Linked DNA regions of Homo sapiens: all the other regions are linked to region 3. Evidence: promoter capture Hi-C in 16 types of primary human blood cells and fetal thymus (Javierre and others, 2016). All regions are on one chromosome and are shown on one strand. The core of a region is centred on a gene start or on the middle of the fragment in contact, and the rest is flanking DNA. Distances in the headings are between cores, read along the strand shown.

The links. The method cuts DNA at HindIII sites, captures the fragments that hold promoters and counts their contacts. A CHiCAGO score of 5 or more calls a contact.
Region 1: a contact is called between a fragment that was not itself captured here and the fragment with the promoter of TBC1D7 in region 3, in 2 of 17 cell types (total B cells and naive CD8 T cells). The highest score is 5.3, in total B cells.
Region 2: a contact is called between the fragment with the promoter of SMIM13 here and the fragment with the promoter of TBC1D7 in region 3, in 1 of 17 cell types (fetal thymus). The highest score is 6.4, in fetal thymus.

The regions. Positions count from the first base shown.
Region 1 is chr6:15,664,081-15,667,655 of GRCh38, reverse strand. No RefSeq gene overlaps it. Among named protein-coding and RNA genes, the nearest start is that of DTNBP1, 2.8 kb to the right of the region's middle. The HindIII fragment of the contact is 657 bases long and covers 1,997-2,653 here.
Region 2 is chr6:11,092,055-11,095,854 of GRCh38, reverse strand. It overlaps SMIM13 (small integral membrane protein 13), which reads right to left and starts at 2,021. Exons shown (of 2, transcript NM_001135575.2): 1 at 1,466-2,021. The coding sequence starts at 1,541. RefSeq lists enhancers at 1,332-1,451, 1,332-1,873, 2,122-2,331, 1,874-2,414 and a silencer at 1,552-1,861. The HindIII fragment of the contact is 2,504 bases long and covers 155-2,658 here.
Region 3 is chr6:13,326,918-13,330,347 of GRCh38, reverse strand. It overlaps TBC1D7 (TBC1 domain family member 7), which reads left to right and starts at 1,811. Exons shown (of 8, transcript NM_016495.6): 1 at 1,811-2,052. TBC1D7-LOC100130357 (TBC1D7-LOC100130357 readthrough) reads left to right here and starts at 1,811. Exons shown (of 9, transcript NM_001318809.2): 1 at 1,811-1,892. It overlaps LOC124901261 (a long non-coding RNA gene), which reads right to left and starts at 1,733. Exons shown (of 2, transcript XR_007059457.1): 1 at 1,450-1,733; 2 at 491-623. RefSeq lists an enhancer at 1,466-1,972 and a silencer at 1,606-1,995. The HindIII fragment of the contact is 4,199 bases long and covers 947-3,430 here.

The DNA.
Region 1 (3,575 bases), core at 1,076-3,575, 2.3 Mb before region 3:
AGTGTATGATGTTCCCCTTCCTGTGTCCATGTGTTCTCACTGTTCAATTCCCACCAATGAGTGAGAACATGCGGTGTTTGGTTTTTTGTCCTTGCGATAGTTTGCCGAGAATAATGGTTTCCAGCTTCATCCATGTCCCTACAAAGGACATGAACTCATCATTTTTTTCACTGCATAGTATTCCATGGTGTATATGTGCCACGTTTTCTTAATCCAGTCTATCATTGTTGGACATTTGGGTTGGTTCCAAGTCTTTGCTATTGCGAATAGTGCCACAATAAACATATGTGTTCATGTGTCTTTATAGCAGCATGATTTACAGTCCTTTGGGTATATACCCAGTAATGGGATGGCTGGGTCAAATGGTATTTCTAGTTCTAGATCCCTGAGGAATCGCCACACTGACTTCCACAATGGTTGAACTAGTTTACAGTCCCACCAACAGTGTAAAAGTGTTCCTATTTCTCCACATTCTCTCCAGCACCTGTTGTTTCCTGACTTTTTAGTGATCGCCATTCTAACTGGTGTGAGATGGTATCTCATTGTGGTTTTGATTTGCATTTCTCTGATGGTCAGCGATGATGAGCATTTTTTCATGTGTCTTTTGGCTGCATAAATGTCTTCTTTTGAGAAGTGTCTGTTCACATCCTTTGCCCACTTGTTGATGGGGTTGTTTTTTTCTTGTAAATTTGTTTGAGTTCATTGTAGATTCTGGATATTAGCCCTTTGTCCGATGAGTAGATTGCAAAAATTTTCTCCCATTCTGTAGGTTGCCTGTTCGCTCTGATGGTGGTTTCTTTCGTACCACCCCTTCTTTAATAGCATCTTTCTCTTTGGTTCTAACTCCGCCAAATCCTCATTTATCACTTTGTCTCCAATAAGAATCTGCTGAGACAGGAAACCCCCTTTCATCAACGAGTAGGGCTTCTCAAATGTTAACATGAATAAAAATCACCCGGGGGGTCTTAATAAAACTCAGATTCTGATTCAGTAGGGCTGGCTGGGGCCTACGATTCTACCTTTGCAGGAAGCTCCCAGATGATGCGGCTGCTGCTGGTCAGGGAAGCACTATTTCAGGAAACTTCTTAGCAGCTTTGGTGCTCACCCCAAACGTTGTATCACCAAAGCTTTTCCTGGGCGCAACTAATATGCTCTCAAAAAATCAACTCTCTGCTGGGCGCGGTGGCTCATGCCTGTAATCCCAGCATTTTGGGAGGCCAAGGCAGGCGGATCACTTGAGGTCAGGAGTTTGAGACCAGCCTGTCCAACATAGTGAAACCTTGTCTCTACTAAAAATACAAAAATTAGCTGGGCGTGGTGGCGGAAGCCTGTAATCCCAGCTACCCAGGAGGCTGAGGCAGGAGAATCACTTGAACCCAGGAGGTGGAGGCTACAGTGAGCCAAGATTGCACCACTGCACTCCAGCCTAGGTGACAGAGGGAGACTCCGTCTTAAAACAAAACAAACAAAAAAACCCCAAACAAACAACAATCAACTCTCAACCAATTCCTGAATTAAGATTAGGTCAATAGCTTCCATACTGATGTTGGTTCTCAAACTGTACTTAAAAGCTTTGTTTTTTTTTTCATTTTGCCAATCCATCTTCCTAGTTTCTGGCTGATTACTGTTACTTATGTAAACACGACATGTCACATGCTTCAACTCTTGGTCCTTAATCATTCCTCCTGAGCAACTCATGTACAACAGTAGTTATTTTCTAATTTTTTTAATATTTACTTCTTTAAATCATAAATTATCTTTTTATTAGCACTTTTAAAACTTTCACTGTTTTTTAATTTAATAGATATGATGGAATTAAGAATGTTCAGAAAGCACCTCAAATACAAACATGCCATAGACTAATAAACAGTGCATTGGTCAAGACAGAAATGATCAGGCACAACCAGTAAAGCTATTTTTTAGTGACAGGCAAGAGTCTTTTTTGAGTGGATTTGGTGCTTTGTTGGAATGTATGAAACTTAGTAAATTGAAAGCTTATGTGTAGAGTTTAATTGAATAAAAGAAAAAAATTTAATATTTCCCAGTACTTGTGGTTTTCAAATCTACTAGATACTAAGGGACCTGTCTGTAGATTTGATCATTTGATCACTTGCTTTGTTCCAGGCACTGTTTCTGAGAGGTAGAAGAAGGCTCAATAAACAGCACTCCTCTTTCTTACTTGTCTGAGCAAACTGAGAAATAAAACAATAGTGTCAGCATAAAGAGGCCAAAATATCACTTTTATATCTAGGAAGACTGATGGAACACATGGCTTATATTCATGGGCAAGCAGAACTTCTAGTACCCAGTCACAAAAAGCACTGGGTTGCCCTTCAAGCCTGTCTTTAGGCAGCAGAATGAATGCTCTTTGTTGGAAGTGTTCACTCAACAAAAAGAAAAGAAGATGAGACCAAGCTCCTTACTTCTAGCTCACTAATCATCGTAGTCACCTCTTCCCCACCAGGAGAGGCTGGGTACTTCTTTATGTTAGCAGAAGAGCTCCCTTCCCATGGAAGAAAACATCAAGAGTGGGGAAGAGGTGGTCCCCCAGCTACAAGCTAAGTCCTTTATCTTATTTAACTCCTGCAACAAGACATTTACTGGGTGTCTGTTATGTGCCATTCACTGTTTTCATTGCTGGGGATGCAAAGCTTAATAAGACAGAGCAGTTTACATCTGGGCCTGTACTTGTGCTACTTACCTCACTGGCCTCATCCAATCCCAGCCCTAACAGATCCTGTGTATTTAAAATTTTGATATTTTGTTCATCACAGATTTTTTTTCATTAATTTTGAATTTTTTAAATATTGTATTAAAATATTACTTATCTTGATTACTGAGCTTTTTGGCTCCCGTAAATTTTGTACCTGAGGTGAATGCCTTATTTGTCGTGGTTTTAAAATATGTTTGTAAACAACTAAATTAATAAATAGCAAATAATTATTGAATAAATTTTCTAATGTGTACTAAGTTGAGAAACAGGCTACGTGATAGGAAGTGATTGGGTGTGTAACTTGAATGGTAAGTAAAACCTATCTAATGTGATGCTATTTAGGATGTGACCCTTATGTTATAAGGAGCCAGACAAGGGACAGTTTGGAGAAAAGTTTGTGAAAACACCACAGGTGGAAATAAACCTGGAATTTTCTAAGAACACACCAAAAAAAAAAAAAAAAAAAAGGCTATTATGTCTTAATTGTCAAGGACATGATAGGTGACTAGTAATCAATTTGGATACAGTGCTAGAAAACATTCAAATTTTAGGGCTTTTTAAGGGGGTAAGTAGTTTGAATTTTATTCCAAGTGCCCAGGAGGCAATTGGAAGATTTTAAGCAGGGGAGCAACGTGATCCGATTGATCTTTTAAATAACTCTTTCTGGCTGCTGTGTCAAGGATGGATTATAGGGGTGTGTATGGCAAAAGAGTAGAATCTGGAAGAACTGTCTGTGTTCCCATTGAAAGAGGATGGTGCCTTCGACCAGGATAAATATAGTGAAGATATAGAAAGAGAAGGAGGTTCCAGAAATACTTCAGGAGTAGAGTTGATTGGATTTGATGGGTTAATATGGGGAATG
Region 2 (3,800 bases), core at 772-3,271, 2.2 Mb after region 3:
GGATTTTGTTTTCCTTACTTCAAGAACCTTAAACATCTACAATTAGTTCAATATTCTAATATTCTTCTGCTTGTTGATATCACAAGCAGAAAATTGAGAAAGGTTATTCAATTGCTTTATCTCATCAGAAAAGAAAGGCTGTAAATTAGAAGCTTTAACCTGGTGTTACAGAAAAGCACAACAAATTTTAAACATACATACAAGGCCGGATGCAGTGACTCATGCCTGTAATCCCAGCACTTTGGGAGGCCAAGGCGGGTAGATCACATGAGGTCAGGAGTTCAAGACCAGCCTGACCAACACGGTTAAACCCCATCTCTACTAAAAATACAAAAATTAGCTGGGCATGGTGGCGGGCACCTGTAATCCCGGCTACAGCTACTCGAGAGTCTGAGGCAGGAGAATCACTTAAACCCAGGAGGCAGAGGTTGCAGTGGGCCAAGATCAGGCCACTGCATTGCACTCCTGCCTGGGCAACAAGAGCGAGACTCCATCTCAAAAAATAAAATAAACATATAAGTTTATAAATACATACACATGCATATGCACAAGTGCACACATATATTCCACAGCGTCACTAAGTATTAATTTGTACATTTATCGTGTAATGAACAAGCCCTATAGTATCTGTATGAATTCTGACCCATTATTACATCAACCTGAACCCATACTTCAGTCTTATAAATATGTGTAAACTCACTGACACGTGTTCTACGTACTTTTTAGATTTTCACAATTGCTTAGCCACTTTGCTAAGAGACCTGTGGTTATCAGCTACTATACATGTACAAAGAAATCAAAAAGATCTAAAATTGGGCTACCATTATTTGAAGAAAAAAGTTGAACGTCCTCTCATTCCAAGAAGGAAAATACGCACAGCATTCGAAATAGCACCATTATTATAGAACTGAGAGTTAGGTTACCCGACCCTGCAAGTTTAATATAGCCGGTGTTTCTAAGCTCTGCCTGGTCTCCACATCTCTGCTTGGAATTGAGTTTAAGGCTGAACTCTAAGTAAACAATTTCACGCGTGCTGAAAACCCAACTCTACCCCACTCGCTGATGAAACGAAGGTGACACCTCTCATTATTAAGGTCAGAATCTGTGCAAATGAAAAAGGACCAATCAATCACTTCACCTTCGAATGCAGGCCAAGGTTACAATCTGGGCAGCCTGTGGTGAGAATGAAAGAGCAGACGCTGCCGGTGAAGCAAGGCTGAGTTTCACTCAGAGGCAGGAAGCCCTGGAGCCTGTCCTTTCCCTCCCCAGGATGCCCGAGGGCCGGCCATGAGTAAAGGGCCCACCTCTGCGCTCAGCCCTAGAGGCTAAGGGACAACAGTTGATTTTAAGACAATTGTCCGTCCACGCCCTTTTGTTTTTTTCAAAAAAACAAACAACAAAAAAAACCCCAGCAGATCAGCGACCCGGCGTGTGGAACTGCCTCGCGGCTACCGCCCCCACTCACCGCACACCATCAGCAGCAGGACGATCAGCAGCGTGGCCACGAACACAAGCAGAGTCAGCCCGACGCTGTGCCACATCTTGGGGGCAGAAGGGCAGTCGGCTCGGGGCGGCTGGCGCGGACGGCGGTGAGCGCGGGCGGCGGCGCGTCCTGCGCTTCAGCGGCGGGCGCCAGGCGCGGCTGGGCGCCGGGGCGGCATGGGCGGCTGGCGCCCCCTCGGCAGCGCCCCCAGGGGGTGGGGCGGCGCAAAGGCGGGCACTGTGGGACCGCCCGCCCGCCCGATCCTTTTCCCGCCGGGGTGGCCAGAGCGCGGGAGGCAGGCGGGCCTCAGGGCGCCTCTAGTCCCTCATCGCCCCGGAGAGCCGAGGCCGCGGCACCCAGAGACCCCAGCGGTCGGATGCGCTTCCATGGCGGACGCCGCGCGCCTGTAGGGAGGACAGAGGGTAAGCACGGGTACACACGGCGGCCACAAGGCCCTCGTCGCTGTCCACCCGTGTCTCTGAGACCCCAGGGATGCCAGATGTCAGCGTCGCCCGGCCGCGGCTGTAGCGGCTTCTCCGCCCCAGGCCCCCTACCGCTGGGGCAGCTCATCACCAAGCTCGCCTCCTCCGCGGCGCGGGGTCGGCTGGGAGATGGAGTGCAGAGCCTGGTGGAGTCGGGACGGCGTTGTCTCGCAGGGACTACAACTCCCAGAATGCACCGCCACTCGGGCTTCGCTGCTTTCATTCTCGGGCGGCTCTGCCTTTGGTCTTGCTCAAGTCGCCTCAGTCGGACGACCGTGGGCTGGCCTTCTCCAAAGCCGCGGATCTGGCTGCCCGTCCTGCTGAGGCGCCAGTGAGATTTCAACCATTACTCCGTATACAAAGTCGTTTTGTTTCTAGCCGTAATCGATGAAGTACGGCGAGAGAGGAAAGAGGAGGCGGCTGCCTGAAAAACTGGTTGCTCGTGCACCTAGCCCTGTTGCCGGGGGCGAAGGTTGGCTATTTGGGACTTGGAGGAAGAACTCAGGTCCCTGCCGCAGACGCGGGTCAGGACACGAAATCTCATTTTCCCCCTGCAACAGATGTTATGTTCTATCTTTTCGTAAGTAAAGCATTTCAGAAATGGCCCGCGGGTGACTTAAGGACAGCTGCACTGCCCTCAAATCACCTGCCTGAGTTGTAAGTTAGACCCAGCTGCCTCCTTGAGACCAAGCTTGGAGATTTTGCCGCACTGGCTTACACCTCTACGAAACAAGACACTGTAGTAATCTCAACTACTGTATCTCCACCCAAAATTGAAACTCCCCACTTCCGCCAGATTACATTCATTTGTTAAAGAGGTGCCCCCAGAAGAATAGAGGGTAAATGTGTCCCTCTTTTAGAAGGAATCAGAGCCTTCGAGTTTTCCTGTGATTCTTTTGCTCCCTGAGATACCTTTTTACTCTTCTAAAAATTACAGTTTCCTGTCTTCTGTCTCCAAAAACAAACACAAAAGTTCTAAGCAGCAATCCCTTGATTTAATAAATGTATCCTGCCATACCCAGCTGCCCTACTATGTGAACTGTATTCCCTAAGAAGCAACATTAGGAACAAATACCATGTATAAAAATACATTAAAGGATAATTACTTGCTTTGCAACAGATTTAATATAGATTCCTGTGAAGAGAATGAACCCAGTGCAATTAAGATATATTTACAAAAAATCAGTGTGTGCTTTTTTCATGGGTGGTTCAATTATGTTGCATAATTAAAACACATTTTATTAAAAGCCAGTTGAAAATACGCGTCAGGGCTAGGCGAGGTGGCTCACGCCTGTAATCCCAGCACTTTGGGAGGCTAAGGCGAGCAGATCACCTGAAGTCAGGAGTTCGAGACCAGCCTGGCCAACATGGTGAAACCCTGTCTCTACTAAAAATACAAAAATTAGCCGGGGGTAGTGGTGGGCGCCTGTAATTCCAGCTACTCAGGAGGCTGAGGCAGGAGAATCGCTTGAACCCAGGAGGCCAAGGTTGCAGTGTGCCGAGATCACACCACTGCACTCCAGCTTGGGCAACAGAGAGACTCTTATCAAAAAAAAAAAAAAAAAGAAAAGAAAAGAAAACAGCCATCGGAAGAACTAAAATAATTTATTTTAAAGGACCTTTTTCTCTTTGATTCACATATATTGGAATACCTATAGGGGCCAGGCACTGTTCTAAGTGCTGGGGATACAGCAGTGAATAAGACAAAGTGCCTTTACTCAAGATGCTTATATGACAGTTGGAAAAAAACAGACAATAAGCATAAATAGAGAAATCTCAGGAACTGCTATTAATAGCAAGACAGTGTGATAAATGTAGGTGTGTTATTTTAGCTT
Region 3 (3,430 bases), core at 562-3,061:
AGAGACTCATCTTTGCATTTTTAATTGATCTTGACACAGCCAATTCACATATATCCCTACTGTGCCACATGCCAGGCACCATGCCAAGCACTTTACATACTTTCTCATTTAACCCTTCCCACCTTCTATATAATCACCATTGGTGATGATTTTATTTTATTATTAATATTTTTTGAAATGGAATTTCTCTCGTTGCCCAGGCTGGAGTGCGGCGGCACCATCTCAGCTCACTGCAACCTCTGCCTTCCGGGTTCAAGCGATTCTCCTGCCTCAGCCTCCAGAGTAGCTGGGATTACAGGTGTGTGCCATCACACCCAGCTAATTTTGTATTTTTACTAGAGACAGGGTTTCACCATGTTGGCCAGGCTGGTCTCGAACTCCTGACCTCAGGTGATCCGCCTGCCTCGGCTTCCCAAAGTGTTGGGATCATAGGCATGAGCCACGGCGCCCAGCCAGCACCGATCACTTTTTAACACACTACATCATTGACTTATTTATTTTAGTTTTTATTGGATCTGTCCTCCCACCAGAATGTCAGTTTCACAAGGTTAGGGATCTTTGCTTCGGTAGCTGATGTATCCTGAGTCCATAGAACAGCGCCTGCACACAGTAAGTGCCCAGCCCTGGTGATGATTTTAAAGACAAGAAAAGGCAATTATAAAAGTTAGTGACCGGCCCAAGGTTTAGATGAAGTAAATGGAACTTGTGTAAGGTAACTTGAAGAACTCTGCTTACTCATGTGAACACTACCCAAGGAAGGTTTAGTACCCCAGTACTGAGGAACTAAAGATGGTGGTGGTAAGGGAGTGGGGAGGGGCATCAGTGTTTGAGTTCAACCACCACACGTTTCTTCATTTTTAAGTTCTGTCTAGCCATTATACACACATTTGTCTGCACTATAACTGGACTTCTGCACTGTTGATAGTCCTAAGTTTCCTTCAAAGCTTGGCATCCGTGTGGCTTATTTGGTAGAGATTTGAACTTTCAAAGGGACGATACCCATCATTGGGGATTTCTCTCAAACCCTGGCGGTTTAAAAACCTACTTGGGCACTGCTGCTCAGCCAGCCCGAGGACCAGGGAGGCAAGCACAGAAATAGAAAGCATTTGTAAGTGTTAGTAGCTACTTTAAAGAGTAACTCTGTTCTGTTAGACCTACTAATAACAAATTAGGAGCTTGCATTTAGCACATCTTTTTTTAAAAAAAAAACACGTTCATTTTTCTCCTATGTTATAGTGTTTTACCTGAGAGGCTGAATATACTAAGACAATGGCCAAATCTAATATAAAAATAGACCTCCAATCCACAACCTGCAGCAACCTGCCCAGAAAACCAGTCAGTTACCTACAATAACCAACCCAGGGAGCCTGCCTGCTCTAAATCAGACTTGCACTCCTCTGCCTGCCTTTTTTCTTCTCATTCGGATGGTCTTCATCTATTCCCACATACCTGGGGTGGGGAGGAAATTAGCAAAAGCAAAACCCGGGTCCTGCACGCAGGCAGCTTAAGTACGGCCCTAGGGCTCGGGTCTTCCCTAGGCAAGAACCTCGAGGGCCGGACACGGGAGTGCAACCCAGGCACGCGCCTTCGGATGGCCAGAGTAAATGGTCGCGAGATTTTGCGGGGTAGCAAGGGGCCGGGTGCCCACGGCGGGAGAAACTACACTACTCTGGAGGCGAGCCTAGCCCTTCATCCCGTCGGGTTTCACAAACGAAGCCAGAGCTTCCTGGAGTGAGGGTGGAGCTTCCTGCCCGCGCCCTCTGCGCATGCGCCCGCCCGGCGCCCGCCCGGCGACCTGGAGTTGATGTCACGTCCGGCGGCGGCGGCAGCGGCAGCGGCAGCGGCGCTGAGTTTTGTCTCCCGGGCCGTCTGGGCGCGCGCGGGTGTCCCAGGTACCCCGCCGCCTCCCTCCTTCCCGCAGGACTCGTCCCTCCTGGCCCTGGGCCCCAACGGTGCCCGCCTGCCCGGCGGTCGGTCAGCGCACAGGGCACGGCTTCCTCTGCTTCTCCCGGACCACTTAGTCTCAACCCGGGTGTGTTTGCACTACTAGAGGTGAAGCATCCATCATAGAGAGAATGGGACCTGGGGTCTTGGACCAGGGTGTTTTTACTTTTCCCATCAGGTGGACGCGCATGGGCAGGAGATATTATTTGCAGCATTTCCTCCTAGAGGACGCCTTTGTCATTGTAGTGCAATCTAAGAATGGGTGTCCTTAGACAACAGGGACCGACCAAATCGTCATGCAGCTGTTTGGATGCTTTAAAAAAATAAATCCCCACACTCATTACGCGTTTTATGCTGCTGACTTTTTTATTTTTAAGACATCTGCTCCCGAAAGCTCAGAGCCCTTTAGCATTTCATTTTCTAAACGAATCCTAATCTTTCCTGTGACTGAATCGGTTCAGAGGATATCTTTTCAATAAGGAAGGAAGCCCTCCCCTGCTCACTGGGGACGTCGCAGGGTTTTTAAACCTAAAGATTTACTCTTTTGTGCACAGACGCTGGAAGCATTTGGGTGAGGCAGTGCAGTGCTTTTTGGGAAATGCATCAGATCTTTTCTGTTCTTGAAACGCCAAATCTAACTTGGTCTTTTTTTGGATGAATTACCGCCAGTATTATGAAGGTTACTGTGAAGGAACTTGAGACCACTGAACTTTTTGAGTTCTTGCGGTAGATTTTAAATCGTTTTTCCGTCTTCAACTCTGACTTTGGGATCACTGTCAATTGGCTACATTCTTTACCCTCTTCTAGTTATAATTTAATGCGATTTATTTGTTGTGGGTTTTGAATTTCGATAGCTACACTTAATAGAATTGTGTTTAAAAGAAAGATAAGTGAGGAACTCGTGGCTTTTTACTTTTATATAACTTAATTTTTCATTTTACAAAATGCCCATTTAAAAAAAAGTAGCTAAGCAAAAGAAAGGAAATTAAAATCATCTAGAATCCTACTATCTAAAGATAACCATTGCTAACATTTTGGAATAGAGTGTTAAGTTTTAAAATACATGAAATTTGTAAAAAACAAAAAATGAAATCATAGTGTATACTGTTTGAGTATAATTTGCTTGACGTATCTTGCCTGGCTTCCATTTCACTTATTTTTTTTCTTTGCGCATTTATAATAGCTACAGAATGTTCTATTGTGCTAGGCACTCATAGGTATAGTGGGAAACCTAGTGCATAAACCTTGTGCCATCTATTTTATCAGCTCAGAGAACTTTTAACTTATATCTTGGTTTTTAGCCAAGATGCATAGGTGAGATAGTTGCAGAACTGAGTTAAAGGAAAAATTTAATATTGGGTCCTATGCAAGGGTACATCATATTGAAAAGGTGGAGAACATCATTGAAAATTATTCTAATTCTTGACTCTTTGTTTCTAGACTCACTTTTCCCCTTCGTCTTTCTCTCCCTTTCTGTCTTTCTGTG